Regions from separate parts of the Homo sapiens genome. Here regions 1 and 3 are each linked to region 2. Evidence: promoter capture Hi-C in human tissues and cell types (Jung and others, 2019). All regions are on one chromosome and are shown on one strand. The core of a region is centred on a gene start or on the middle of the fragment in contact, and the rest is flanking DNA. Distances in the headings are between cores, read along the strand shown.

Region 1 (4,635 bases), core at 1,550-4,049, 530 kb before region 2:
TGGTACTAAACCCTCCTTGGAATTTTCTCTCATAGTTGCAATGCTGTTTGGCCCCAACATTGTTTGGAATTTGGAGTTTACTGTTGAATGGAAAAGTGGAATGGCATTGTATCTATGCAGGCTTTTGTGCTGTGGTTCCAAGCAGGGGACCTGGTTAATGTGTGATGCCCTCCTTTGGTATGGTTTGGCCCCAGTGCTCTTTGGATTCTGGGGAGGTTTGGCCTTTAAAAATCAAACTGCCATGGAGACTGCTTTACCCAAAATTTTGGTTCACAGCCTTCATTGGATTATCTACTGGGGCAAAGTAAAACCAGTAAGTTTCTATTGCTATCTCATGGCTAAGGTTCCAAGCTATTGAGTCTTCATTTATGTGTGTGTATACATGTCTAGATGTCTTTATTTGCATGTACACTTACTGTTATATGTTATGTCTACCAAATTGGCTTATAAGTAAAAGAGCACTCATAAGTAAGTCTAAGCAATTTTCAAGTTCATGTGACTTAAAGTATAACTTTACTAAACAAGCTAGCTTTAAAATTATTGGTGGAATAAAAATATAAATGCCTTCATAATTATCAGCATACATTTTGTCTGAATTTTATGTTTGTCTTTGCTAAATATTTTTAAATGTCAGTGTTAATTCAAGCTGGGAGCTACTTAGGGTGAGCCTGCCTTCTTCCATTCTATCCGAAGTCTCTTCTAAAGTTGCGGAATTGTCCATATCCATTAGTTCAGGATTTTTTGTTTTTTAGGGTTTCACTAAAGTTTCAGGTTTCTATTTAACATGTAATTCTGTATACCAAATGTACCAGAAAGGGTTATGTTATTCATGAAAAAAAAAGAGAATAGTTTTGTCTAATTCAATAGTTATCTAAAAGTTGGTTCAAATTACAGATTTAAAAAGGTTATTCATAAAACAATGTAGTAAGGAATCATTAGGCAAAAAATGTGGGAAAAGTTTAAATCATAAAATATTTTTTAAACCCTGATAAAGAATTGGAGACGTTTGGCTAATTAAACATTTTCATAAAGCTGTTAGTTTTGATTAAAGTAAAATAAAAAGTATTGTAAAAATGCATCAGCAGTTTGGCAATTATTTTTTTAAATATAGTTAAGCATGAAGCTGGATATAATGTAAAGCCAAATTTCACATACATGCTTGTTTCCTAATGCCTGGCTTTTTGGATGGATCAGAGGGCCACTGAAAACATTCAGAAAGGAGGTAAACAGGATTATTTGACATGTTTGGGTACATGTGATTGCTAAAATGATGTTCAATCTGCTTTAGGTTATATTTTTGTGAATAATACTAATATATGTTCCAAAACTGTATGAGATTTCTAAAATAGTATATGCTGTCAATTATAATTATGGTTATTATGTTATTATAAACTGCAGAAATAATCAAATTTCCTTGTATAAAGCTACTGACCTACTAACACAAGTAAAACAAAAATTAAATACCAAAACAATACAATACAATTAAAGCTTCAGGTATATTTGGTCACCTGGTGGGCCATTTAAACATTTTATAAAGGGATTTCATTCAGTTGTTATTTTCAATGCATGTTTTCTGTTGTATAAAAGCTTTACTATGCAAGGAGGCTGAGATTATTATGCTACAGTATATTTCCAGCAGGTAAAAAAGCTTTTTATGGTTTAAATCTTCTGAGAACATAGGAGAAAAACTGTCCTTGCCACCCACACTACAACAAAATGTCAGGACTTTGGGCTTTAGGTTAACGGGTTTTGATAAGGGTCCCTCCACATTTTTGGAACTGTGCAGCCATTGGAACCCTTGAGGTGAAGCTAACCAGGGAGATTTCTCCCAAGAAGATGGCATCCTTGATGTAAACAGCTTTTCCCAAGTTCACAAATTAAAACTTCTATCATAAAACTCTTACCTTTGAATTTTTTTTCTTATGCTTCTACAAACATTAAAAGTAGAAAAGGGATCTGTTAAGTGCATTTATGGAGTATACTTCTATTTGTGAAGGAGTTTGCAGCCAGCCTTATATATGGATAAGCTTATACTTAGATAAATAAAAGATGAAAGCCCAGTCAGTGTAAGTAAGAAACTTTAATGGTACATACATTGCCTCATAATCAGTCCAAAAACAAAACATTGGTTCACTCCTGTTAACCCACACCGTGGGCTAAAGAGACCATTGCCAGGAGGCCTTCACTCTTCTAGAGGGGCATCATTTGTTAGGTCCTTTCCCATGGTTTAAAGTAAAAGAAGCAATGATTTAAAAAGGTATCCCTCATGATAGGCTCTATAGCAAATTCTACTGTAAAGGCTACAGTTACACAATAGACTTTAAATTCTTTTGTGAAAGTTATAATAGAATTGACTAAACAAAGAGGTACCTGTGCAGCTGCTGGCACTTGTGGCTTATGGAGAAATACATCAAATGAAGATTATAGAAATTCAGTGGTAGGGGATTAACAAAGAAATTGCTTAGTTAAGTAAGTAAACTCTTTATCTGGCTCATTCTTTGATCTATTTAATTTTACGAGGTTTGGTTTATGGAAACCTTGAGTAAGGAGCATACTGTGAACTCTTGGTATTTTCCTCCCAATAGTCATAATAATAGTCTCCCTTGTGTGCTGTATTCTCTCAAAGGTTTTAAATGCTTGCATGCAGCCATCTCTAGGATGTCATATGGTCTCTCTTCAACTAGAATAACAGAAGCTAAAAGAAACGTGCAACCATGAGAACACCGTAACCTATAAATAATGTGCTGAGACCAGAAATCCAAAATGATGGTAACTGAGAGTGGCTCTAAGGCCCTAAATTTTGGACACACACTAATCTAAGTGAGAACCTAACCAAAAAGGGGGAATTTCGTTTTGTTTTGTTTGAGACGGAGTCTCTGTCACCCAGACTGGAGTGCAGTGGTGTAATCTTGGCTCACTGCAACCTCTGCCTCCCAGGTTCAAGCAATTCTTTGCCTCAGCCTCCCAAGTAGCTGGGATTAGTGCCTACCACCACGCCTGGCTAATTTTTCTATTTTTAGTAGAGACGGGGTTTCACCATTTTGTCCAGGCTGATCTTGAACTCCTGACCTTGTGATCCACCTGCCTTAGCCTCCCAAAGTGCTAGGATTACAGGCGTGAGCCAGTGTGCACGGCCAAGGGGGAAGTTTTTAAACAAAATTCTGGGATGCCATTGTTTTGGACTAAGCTCATACACTAGGCACCAACAGACCAAAACAAAATGGAGTTGCTTGTGCCAAGACTTTAAGGAAACACATAAATTCTAGAACAAATCAGGTTTTTTTTCTCCTGCAAATCTCTGTAACAAACATTCTTAACAGCATAGGTATCCACCCCCATTATATCTTTTAACCAAACACGTTTGCTCTTGCCTAGAGACCATCAAGCTTCACTGATCATGCAGTGAAATCTCCAGCCAGTTCCAGGTGAAAACACACCCCTGGCCATCAAGAAACTACCCTGCCTCCACTAGACAGAACAGGGCGAGAGTACTGTGATCCCCAATAGACAGGGACTATGCCCCAAGCCAGCATAAAGCAGTTACAGAAAGAAAAAGACCGTTGACCCCCCCGTCTCCTATAAGGATTTATGGGGATCACATCTCTCGGGGGACATGAGGCAGGAAAACGGTCTGGAGGCAGGGACCATAAGCCCAATTCACACTTCAGCTATAACAGGAAATATCCTCTCCATAGGGCATCCACCGTTAATAACTAAATTTACTTCACCCTCTCCATTTACGTTGGGCATACCCAAAGTAACCAATGGAATACTCTAGGTGGTATTTAAGCTCCCAAAAATTCTGTAAGGGGGCCTTCGAGCCCCTATGCTCGGGCCCGCACTGTGGAGTGTACTTTCATTTTTAGTAAATCCTTTTATTCCTTCCTTGCTTTGTGTATTTTGTCCAATTCTTTGTTCAAGATGCCAAGAACCCGGATACTTTCTAGCGGTAACAATATATTCCTGACAGCTTTGTCAAAAAGAAGTTTGCTGTAATATGGATTTATCTCTGCATTCGCTCTACTGTTTTACTGATCAGTTTTATGCCATTTTAATTACGGTAGCTCTGTTGTATCATTTAAATTCAAATACTATGATTCCTCCAGTTTCTTTTCTGGTACAATGGCTTTGGCTATTTTGAGTCTTTTATGGGTCTGTCTACATTATAAGATTGTTTTTCCTATTTCTGTGAAGAATGTCATTGATGCTTTGATAGGAATTGCATTAAATCTGTAGATCATTTTGGGTAGTATGAAAATTTTAATAATACTGATCCTTCCTATTCATGAACATAAAATATCTTTCCTTTTTTTTCTCTTGTTTAATTTCTTGCATCGATGTTTTATAGTATTCATCATAGAGATCTTTCACTTCTTTGGTTAAGTTCATTCCTGGTATTTAATTTTAATTTGTGGCTACCGTAAATGGAATTACTCTCTTGGTTTGATTTTCACATTGTTCACTGTTGGCATGTAGAAACACTAATTTTTTAATCCTGTATCTTGACTAAATGTATGAGTTCTAATGGTGTTTTAGTGAAGTAGGTTTTTTCAAATATAAGACCCCATCATATGCAAAGTTTTTTTTGTGACAGATTTTTTTTTTCTATATGTCTCTTTTGTTTGATATAGCCAC
Region 2 (4,433 bases), core at 1,737-4,236:
CAGAGCCTGGGTCTGGGATGAGGGGCTCTTAAGAGGTTCTGAGGGATCCTGCAAACAGCCCCTCTGGACGCCAGGACAGGATGTGAAAGTATCTTGCTCACTCAAAGCTCACCTTAACCAAATGTCCTGAAAAGCTTATAGGCTGCTTCTCCCTTTGGCCTTATATTTGCAAACGAACTCATTTTACAAACTGGGGCTCCAAGCCTAGATTTGCTCAAGGCACATAACTGGGAAGTAGCAAATTCAATCTGTCCATTGCAAACCACCAGGCCAAGGGTTTGGGTTGTTGGCAAGCTCACAGCCAGGAGGGGCGAGAAGCCCAGGAAGCCTGCTGGGGAGGGAAGTGGCTCAGGCACCACAAGACCACCTCCCTGCACAACTCAAACAGCACTCAGGCCCTGTGCTCAGGAGGTCACATCACCAGACTTTTAGTCCCAAGTCTGACCTGGCCACTTCCTGGGATCAAAGGGAGGATTTGTGAAATGGCAGGTTGGGGCGAGGGGTTATTGTGGAGGAGGACCCAGCTTCCCAACTGTAAGGGCGTCAGTCAGTGCCTACCCCTCCCCATCCAGGGGTCTGGGCTGCTGAGAGCAGCAGCCTAGAACTCAGAATCAAGACAACCCCAGTACTCATGAGGCCCCCAGCTGACTGACTCCATTACAGACGGCCTTTGGGGCTCCCCACCTGGATGCCCCAGACAGAACAGGCAGCGCGCATCTGTCCTTCCCACTGTGTTTACATGATGCATTCTGGGTCTGTGAATGGTAATGTGGATTCTTTTGAAACCCCCTCCCTGTCTTCCACCTCACGTGAACTGGGAGGTGGACAGAACTTCAACCTAGGAATTCCACAACCAGCGACAGCAAATGAGGAGCCGGAGTATCACACAACACAGGAAGCTTTATTCATCCGCTGCTGGTCCAAAGAGTGGGTCGCAGGGTCACTCACTTTAATATGCTGTCATCTTGGGCCGGAAGGTTAGAAGAAAAGCACATGTTACCACTCAGGCAACCTAAAAAGACCACTTCAGCTTCCCAGTTATTTTTTTTTTTTTTTTTTTTGTTTTGAGACGGAGTCTCGCTCTGTCACCCAATGGCGCAATCTCAGCTCACTGCAACCTCTGCATCCCAGGTTAAAGCGATTCTCCCACCTCAGCCTTCTGAGTAGCTGGGATTACATGCACCCGCCATCATGCCTGGCTAATTTTTTTTAGACAGAATTTCACTTTGCTGCTCAGGCTGGAGTGCAGTGGCGTGATCTCAGCTCACTGCAACCTCCGCCTCCCGGGTTCAAGCAATTCTCATGCCTCAGCTTTCTGAGTAGCTGGGATTACAGGTGCCTGCCACCATGCCCGGCTGATTTTTTGTATTTTAGTAGAAATGGGGTTTCACCATCTTGCCCAGGCTGGTCTCGAACTCCAGAGCTCAGGCAATCTGCCTGTCTCAGCCTCCCAAAGTGCTAGGATTACAGGCATGAGCCACCGCACCGGGCCATGCCCGGCTAATTTTTGTAGAGACAGGGTTGCACCATGTTGGTCAGGCTGGTCTTGAACTCCTAACCTCAGGTGATCTGCCCGCCTTGGCCTCCCAAAGTGCTGGGATACAGGCATGAGCCACCACGCCTGGCCAGCTTCCCCATTTTTAAACAATCCGCATCTACTTAGCTCTGCTTAAATGTCCTCCTCCATTTTCCTTATCCCTGCACAAACCTGGGAGGGACAATCTATAAGAGCCAGTGTCACTCGTACCTTCTGCCAATTCTCTGGCAATCCGTTTCAGTTCATCCTGCTTCTTCTTCTCTTCTGCTGCTATCCTCCTCTCCTCTTCTGCCCGAGGTTTTAGGTAATCTGTTTGGCGGAATGCAGGAGAATAAAATTCACTGGAAATGCTGTACAAAAGGAACTGAGTCCACAGGTCAAGGTATCTTCAGCGACGCTGTAAACCAGACGCACCTGCTGTTCCCGCTCTTTATGTTAATGCGAGTCAACGCCTGACCTTCACCCTGACGAGTCCAACCCAGAGGCTACAGGGCCCCTGCTGCCCACCCGCTCACGCACTGGCTCACTCGTCCTCTGCGAACAGGGACTGCCTCCCATCAAGACCTCAGCACTCGAACAGCCATTTAGCACCCGTTTTCACCAAGAAGCAGCCGTTTTCGAGTCCCCCGCCCGGGCCTCAGAAGCCTGAGCTTTGGGTGAGCTGATTCCACTATCGGGGTCACGCTCGGTGGAGGACACGGTCCTGCAGCCTCGCATGCGTCCCAAGCCCCCTTCCAGAGCTGGAGTTCTCCAAATAGCACAGGAGCTCCACAGGAAAGCCGAGCAGACCCCGCCCCGGCCCCGCCCGCGGTCACTCACTGTAGCGCGTGGCTCCGTAGGCCACACCGAGGAACAGGGCGGAGTAGCGGCCGAGCTGCGAAAGAGGTTGGTCAGAGGCGGCGCGAAACGGGGCTCGCGGGACGGGGGTCGCGGGAGGAGGGGGGGCGGGGTCGCTGGGCAGAGGTCGCAGGAGGGGTGGGGGTCCGGTCGCCGGGCGAGGGTCACGGGGCGAGGATCATGGGGGCGGGGGCCGGGGGTCGCAGCCCGCGGGGTCGGAGCTGCGGGGCGGGACACGGGGGGGCCCAGAGCACTGGGCGGCGGCTGCAAAGCCTGGATCACCTTGATGAGCGGAGAGACCTGCACCGGTGGCACCATCTTGTCCCTGACCTCCGCACCGGAAGCACAACCTGCAGACGGAGCAGGATGCCGCACAAGCCAGCAAAGCCTTGGAGGCAAAGGCGGAGCTGGGCGCACGCATGCGCCGTCAGCGGCGAGAGAGCGGGGGGCCGCGCCCCCTGGCGACCGAAGGGTGACTGCGCGCCCCCGCGCGGCGGTGACGTCACGTGAGGCGCACGCGCACAAAGGCTGGGGAGTGCGCGGAGGATCATCGGCTGCGCCTGCGCAGTTGCTGCGTGAGGCGGGATCTGCGCCGAGTGGGCGGGGGGTTTCCTTTCCCCGCAGGGCTGGGGGTCCGCTGTTTCCCCGCGCTGCTGCCGAGGCCCCGCCGTCCGCGTCCTGGCCGTGTGTCCACACCCCAGACTGCGGGCCGGGGCGCACTCTGTCTTCTTGCGCGGAGCGTCGGAGGCCTGAGGTCAGGGCGGCTCGGGCGGGTCCAGCCCCGCGGACCGCGCCCACCCGAGGGTGGCCTGGGCAGGGACCTGGGGGTCCTGGGAGCGGAGTGTGAGCCGAGTGCAGGTGGCTCCCCGGGCAGGTCCTTCTCCTACAAGGCAGTAGTGTCTGTCGCCGGCCGGGCCGCGTTGGATTCCGCGGCCCGCGGGAGCATGGCCTCCAGGCCCCTCTTCCTGCGGCTGCTCTGCCCGGGAGCACGGGGCGCCCTTCATCCCGGAGCTGGAGCTTCCTCACCCCAGGATGCCCCATCACTTCTGTCCCGAAGAGGGGCTGGGATCTTCTTGGGAAGACCAGCCCCCAACAGAGGCTGCTCCCTGGGTCCCCCGACTCCAGGCCTCAGGACTCCACGGCTCCAAGGGCCTGCCCCGGCCCAGGCCTGGGGACCACTGAGCCCCACACTGGTCTTTGCTGGCCTCTGTCCACCTCCCGGTAGCTGTGTGTCTCCCACAGCTGCCCAGAGATGGGGCCTGCGGTGCCTATGCAGCCTCCCCGCTGTGCCCGAAGTGCTGACCCGCCAGCCCCATGGACACCAGGCTTGGAGTCTAGGCAGGAGCCTGGCACCCCCTCCACGTTCTGGGTCTTCCTGGCGGCAGCCATGCTGCCCGTGCTGGGCCACCCTCGGGCCCCCTTTGGCCCCATGCAGTAGTGACGCAAGGCCTCCTGTGTCCCCTCCTGGCCCTGCACTGCTACAGGCAGAAGCAACTGGAGAACTATGGCTCGGGTCTCGCTAAGGTGCAGCATCACAAACTCCAGGACTCTTGAAGCAAGCATGGGGAGGACCCGTGATCCTGGCGGCCTGGGCTACCTGTCCGGGCCTAAGTCGCCTCTGCCCCCTCTCCTGGCTTGCTCTGGGGTCCAGGGCCTGGGCCTCTCTGGCTGAGAAACTAGGAAGTCACTGGGCTCTGTTTCCTGAGCTGGGTATACCAAGGCCAGTCCTATAGGGCAGGGGTCCCCAACCCCCAGGTGCAGACCAGTACCAGCTTGTGGCCCGTTAGGAACCGGGCAGCACAGGACGAGGTGAGGGAGCATGATTGCCCGAGCTCCACCCACTTTCAGATCAGCCTGGGCATCAGATTCCCATAGGAGCGTGAACCCTACTGTGAGCTGCGCACTTGGATCTGGATTGCGCTCTGGTGAGAATCTAATGCCTGATGAACTGAGGTGGAATAGTTTCATCCCGAAACCTTCCTCCCCAACACGGAAAAACTGTCCTCCGTGAAACCTGTCCCAGGCGCCAAAAAGGTTAGGTACTTGCTGTAGGGCCACC
Region 3 (4,972 bases), core at 2,349-4,848, 630 kb after region 2:
CCTGTTTTACCTAAATCAGATTTTTGCCCCCCAACACTCCACCCAGATGTTCCTCTTGAGGACAGGATGATGCTCCTGAAAGCGGTCAGTCCACAGCGGACCCCACTGCCTCGAGACGCTCCCATCACTCGGCTCCCGTGACACCATCCTCTGGGCTCTCCCCACCCCTCGCTGCATGTCCTCACTTGCCTATGCTGTCTTCTCTAGTCTTGGAGGCCTTTTGTTTTATGTCACCAGCCAGCCCTCCAGAGGTTGTGTGGCTTCACAGACGGTCTCCAAGCTCCTGTCCCCACACTGCTGCCCTCCCCAGGCCTCTCTCCCTGAGGCCATCCCGTGTAGTCACCTCCCGGAGCTCTCTTCGCATGTCTGGAAGGCAGTTCAAAGATACGATACCAGGCGCAAAACCAAATGCCGCATCTCGGCCTTGGGGCCCCAGACGAGCCCCAGACCTGCCTTACTAAGCCACCCTTCCCAAGTCAGTTGACAGCGATGTCCCCCGGCACTTGTTCAGTGACAGCCGAGAACTCGGAGGTTTTCTCGATTTCTGTTTCTCACGTTTATCCTTGAGTCCACGATGGCTGCTGGGGCTGCGGCCTTCGCGGCCAGGAGGAGGGTAAGGGGGAATCAGTGCCGCCCTGCGTGGCCAGCTCCCTGCGTGGGGGCCTTAGTGGACATCCTCCCAAGCGTTTACACTTCAGCTCATTCCCCAGAGCACGGGGCTGGCCATTTCTAGCTTTGGAGGAGCCTGAAAAAGTACGTGCGTATGTGTGTGTGTATACATACATATAGAGAGAGAGCACGCGCTTGAGTGTGGGCTCATTGCTGCCCTAAATAAAATTAGGATGTGGTTCCTTTTGCCCTTTGTCCCTTGCCTGCCTGGTTTCCTTTGCAGCACTCGTCACAGTCTGACGCGGTCGCCTGCATCTCTCTGTGCTTTGGTTGGGCGTCTCCTTTAGAGCGTCTGCTCTGCGAGGGCACGGGCCGTCCTTTGTCGTCGTTCACGTCACACCCACGAGTGCCTGGCACAGGAGTCAGTCAATGGCTGTTGGCCGAACCAATTTCTCCCCCGTCTGTCTGGGAAATTCCTAAACTTCGCATCTCACTTTTGTCCACTTGCCGCATTCTAGAGTATGTCTTGGTCTCATGGCCTGTGCTCTCATCTGGCTGTGGTCAGCCTCTTGCGTTTCCTTTCTCCCTTGCCTCCACCCCTCGCGATGTAGCCCCATCCCCTGCCCTTCTCTGCTTCCCATTGTTCTAGAACATTCCAGCATGGAAACCCCGCTGTGCAAGGCCCCTGCACTGGCCACAGAAGCCGCACCTATCTGCTGAGGAACCCGGTTGCTGCCTGGAGTGGGTGTCGAGTACTGCCTGGCAGCATAGCCATGCTTCTTGAGGCATTTTAGCACCCTGTACCCCAGGTACTGTTCCATATGCCCCTCCTTCTCCATGAGCCCCCCATGCCTGCCCCGTCCTTGTGCTCTGCCCGCGGCTTGGCCCTGTCTGTCGCCTGCCTGCTTGTGCTCACTGTTTCCTTTCTTTTACTGGAGATATGTCATTTGTGCCCCGCCCAAGGCCAGCCTTTGTTCATGCACCAGACCCCCTGCCCCATCCCTGTGACCTGAAGAGGCATGTGCCGTCTTCTGGTTATCCACGAAGAGGCACACGCGCCGTCTTCTGGTTATCCACGAAGAGGCACACGCGCCGTCTTCTGGTTATCCACGAAGAGGCACACGCGCCGTCTTCTGGTTAACTGTGTGCGGGACCCACAGGTCCCCTCTGTCTGAGCCAGCCCTGCCTTGGGGTCTCTGGAATTGCTTCTCATCTGGTTTTACCCCCATCACAGTGCTATAGTCAGGGCACCAGGTAACCCCAAGACACTGCTGAGACCCATGATGGATTCTTGCTGCCCATCTCGACCTCTCACAGGGCTGGAACACAGCTCACCCCCTCGGGCTCCTAGAGCGCCATCCTCGCGTTTCCCCCCGGGCTCAGTCCTTGGCCCTGGGTGTTGCTGTGAGCACCGCTGCCTTGGTGCTCTCACAGGGTCTAGTGGACTGATAGGACCCTCTGTGTATACTGATGACTCCCAGGCAGGTATCTTCCCAACCCCAGAGCCCTGTATCCAGTAGCCTGTAAAACATACCCACTTGGCAAGGCACTTTGGCATTAAAATTATTATTATTAAAATTATTATTATTTTTAGAGATGGGATCTCACTCTGGCACCCAGGCGGGAGTGCAGTGGCATGATCACAGCTCACTTCAGCCTTGACCTCCTGGGCTCAGGTGATCTTCCTGCCTCAGCCTCCCGGGTAACTGGGACCACGGGCGCCTGCTTCCGTGTCTGGCTAATTTTTTTATTTGTAGAGATAGGTTCTAGCTCCGTTGTCTAGGCTGGTCTCCATCTCTTGGGCTCAAGCATTCCTCCCTCCTGGGCGTCCAAAAGTGTTGGAATAACAGGTGTGAGCCACCATGCCCAGCTCCTTGGCATATTTAGATCTGAGCTTATCATCTTAACACCTGCTGCCCAAACCAATTCTACCAGTCTCCCTTCTCTTCGGGAAGGGCAGCCCCTCCATCTCCCTTGGTCAGGCCAGAACCTTCAGGTTGGCCTTGATGCCTCTGTTGTCACAGCTCATGCCCAGCCCGTCTGCCCCTCCACCCTGGCGTCAGGACATGCCCAGGCCCAGCTGCTGCTGCTCTTCCCACCTCTGCCCCTGCGGCTCAAGTCGCATCTCTCTCTGGAATATTGAATAGCCTTCTGGCTGCTCCTGCTCTGCTCATGCCCACCCCGGCTGCCCCAGCGCCAGATCCTGTCGTCTTTTTGTTCTAGGAGTTTCCTGACCTGGGGATGAAGGCCAGGGTCGTTACAGTGGCTCCCAGGCCCTTTGCCCTGTAGGGTGCTGGGCCCAGTGGCCTTTCTGCCGCCATTCAGCCAGGCCAGCATGCCGAGCCCAGGGTTTTACTGCCACCTTCCTCTGTCTGGAGCGCTCCTTCCACAGATGTCCATGGTCCCATGTCCTCACCTTCAATCTTTGCCAACGTCCGTGGTCCCATGTCCTCACCTCCTTCAATCTTCGCTGAGCTGTCAGCTTGTGAAGCTTCTCTGACTCCACTGTTGAAACTGCAGCCCCAGCATCTCCCACTTCTGCCCTTTTCCCTCGTGAGTCGTGACCGCTGTCTCACATAACGGTATTTTGCTTGTTTCTGACCACTGGGATTATAAGCTCTTTTGAAGGATAGAGAAGAAATAAATTCTCCAATTAACAAATGAACAAAATAATATTAAATATTATTTTGGCAATTCTGTCTAAAGCAGTAAGAATTGAAATAGAAGTAAATGTAACCATTGAGAAAGTCAGCACAATAACGGGGCATACAGTAAGTGCACGAAACCCAGTCGCCACCCTCTATATCACCGCCAGCCAGTTAGAACACATCCCATTCACCATAACCCAAAGCAGCAGAGACAGACGATCCAACAGCATCCTTAGCAGGCAGCCTGACTGCCACGGAGCTGTTTCAGGAAAGGCCCGAAGGAAGATTGGCACTAGCAGAGGATGCCGTGTTTCTGCATGAAAACCGTAATGATATCATATTGTTCTTTTTGTGTTTGATAAATATTTCTTATTTATAATGAAAGGGACACCAAGAAGGGCTGGGCCTTGCCAGACACCACAGCCAGGTATGTAACTGCCAAAGTTGTGACCTTGTGGCAGAACAGCTGGCTCCCTTTGAAATACTTTATGGAAAGGTGAGAGAGGAAGCTCTGCTGATGTTGTGATTATGAACTGACACTCCTGCCCGCTTGCAGTCTCTGTTGTTTGGTCAGGGAGTGACCTGGGGATGAGGGCACTGGACCGCGTGGGGCACGGCCCCGGCTCTTCCGTGCTGCCGGCTTCCGAGGCTGGGGCTGCGTGGCGTGCGTGTGTGCCGCTGCCGCAGGTCGCATACCCTTTCCAAGACGGACCAGTGGCTTTAAAAGGTTCCTGCAAGGAAGTGGCTGGCTAAGGCTGGGCCTAACTGGGCGTGCACACAACAGGGAGCGCAGAGCTCAGGGCCGACAGCACTCTTGCCACTGCGAGCTTTGTAGGGCGCAACATCAATCTGGTTACATCCCCTCAGAAGTTGACTGGAAGTGTCATTTTTTCAAGAAGCCTCTTAGGGGATTCGAAGCGTTTTTCCTTGGTGAGCCTCCCTCAGGGTATGTGCTGTGCTTGGGGAGATTAGCTCAGGATGGCAGGAAGCCACCGTGATTACATGCCCCGCACCAGAACATGAGACTGGCCCCTCCAGGACGGAGAGGGATGTAAACTGCCACCCAGGGCTTAATCCAGCACTTCTGGCCCTGTGATGAGCTTCGTGATCAATATTTAGAAACCTCTTCTGGTTAATTGCAAAAGACAAAGAGCCTCATGCATTGGGGAAATTCTTCCTTCCCGTGCTGGTGAAAACATGATGATGACACACTGAAATGCGTTGCGTTTTGTCAGCAAATTCTGTCAGAAGCACGGCAAACGCTGGAGAAGGTTTGAGGAAGCGCATCCTGAAGCTGATGGCACCGTGTGGGGGCAGCGGGCGGGCAGGTGCAGACGTTTCACGCATGTCTCCACTCACACTGCTTGCCACATTCTGTTTCAGTGACGAAATCAGGGAGGATTACTGCTGTGAGTCACCAAAGGGGAAGATGTACTGGAGGAGATGTAATTTAACATTCGCTAAGTAGAGAAATCCCGTGAACATAAAAAGCTGTAATGCAACAAATTACTTAGGAAAAATTGGGGAGATGTGATAAATAAAAGTTTAATTCTTTGGTATAACCAGAAAAGATAGAACCAGAATTTAAAAGCAAATACCAAGCCAGGCACAGCGGCTCATGCCTGTAATCCCAGCACTTTGGGAGGCTGAGGCAGGAGTATCACTTGAGCCAGGAGCTCAAGGCTGCAGTGAGCCATGATTGTGTCCCTGCACTC

The links. Contacts are between HindIII fragments. The study calls those that stand out against the background at their distance.
Region 1: a fragment that was not itself captured here is called in contact with the fragment with the promoter of MYL5 in region 2 in 4 of the 25 tissues and cell types used here (dorsolateral prefrontal cortex, lymphoblastoid cells, spleen and 1 more).
Region 3: a contact is called between a fragment that was not itself captured here and the fragment with the promoter of MYL5 in region 2, in 1 of the 25 tissues and cell types used here (lymphoblastoid cells).

Annotation. Positions count from the first base shown.
Region 1 is chr4:140,350-144,984 of GRCh38, forward strand. The region is part of intron 3 of ZNF718 (zinc finger protein 718); the gene reads left to right. Among named protein-coding and RNA genes, the nearest start is that of ZNF718, 18 kb to the left of the region's middle. The HindIII fragment of the contact is 4,248 bases long and covers 676-4,635 here.
Region 2 is chr4:671,556-675,988 of GRCh38, forward strand. It overlaps MYL5 (myosin light chain 5), which reads left to right and starts at 2,987. Exons shown (of 9, transcript NM_002477.2): 1 at 2,987-3,128. ATP5ME (ATP synthase membrane subunit e) reads right to left here and starts at 2,721. Exons shown (of 4, transcript NM_007100.4): 1 at 2,657-2,721; 2 at 2,357-2,411; 3 at 1,748-1,846; 4 at 881-964. The coding sequence starts at 2,692. The coding sequence ends at 945. RefSeq lists enhancers at 2,853-3,610, 3,488-3,557 and a silencer at 3,008-3,277. The HindIII fragment of the contact is 2,744 bases long and covers 517-3,260 here.
Region 3 is chr4:1,296,698-1,301,669 of GRCh38, forward strand. The region is part of intron 1 of MAEA (macrophage erythroblast attacher, E3 ubiquitin ligase); the gene reads left to right. Among named protein-coding and RNA genes, the nearest start is that of MAEA, 9.3 kb to the left of the region's middle. RefSeq lists an enhancer at 600-1,313. The HindIII fragment of the contact is 9,660 bases long and covers 1-4,972 here.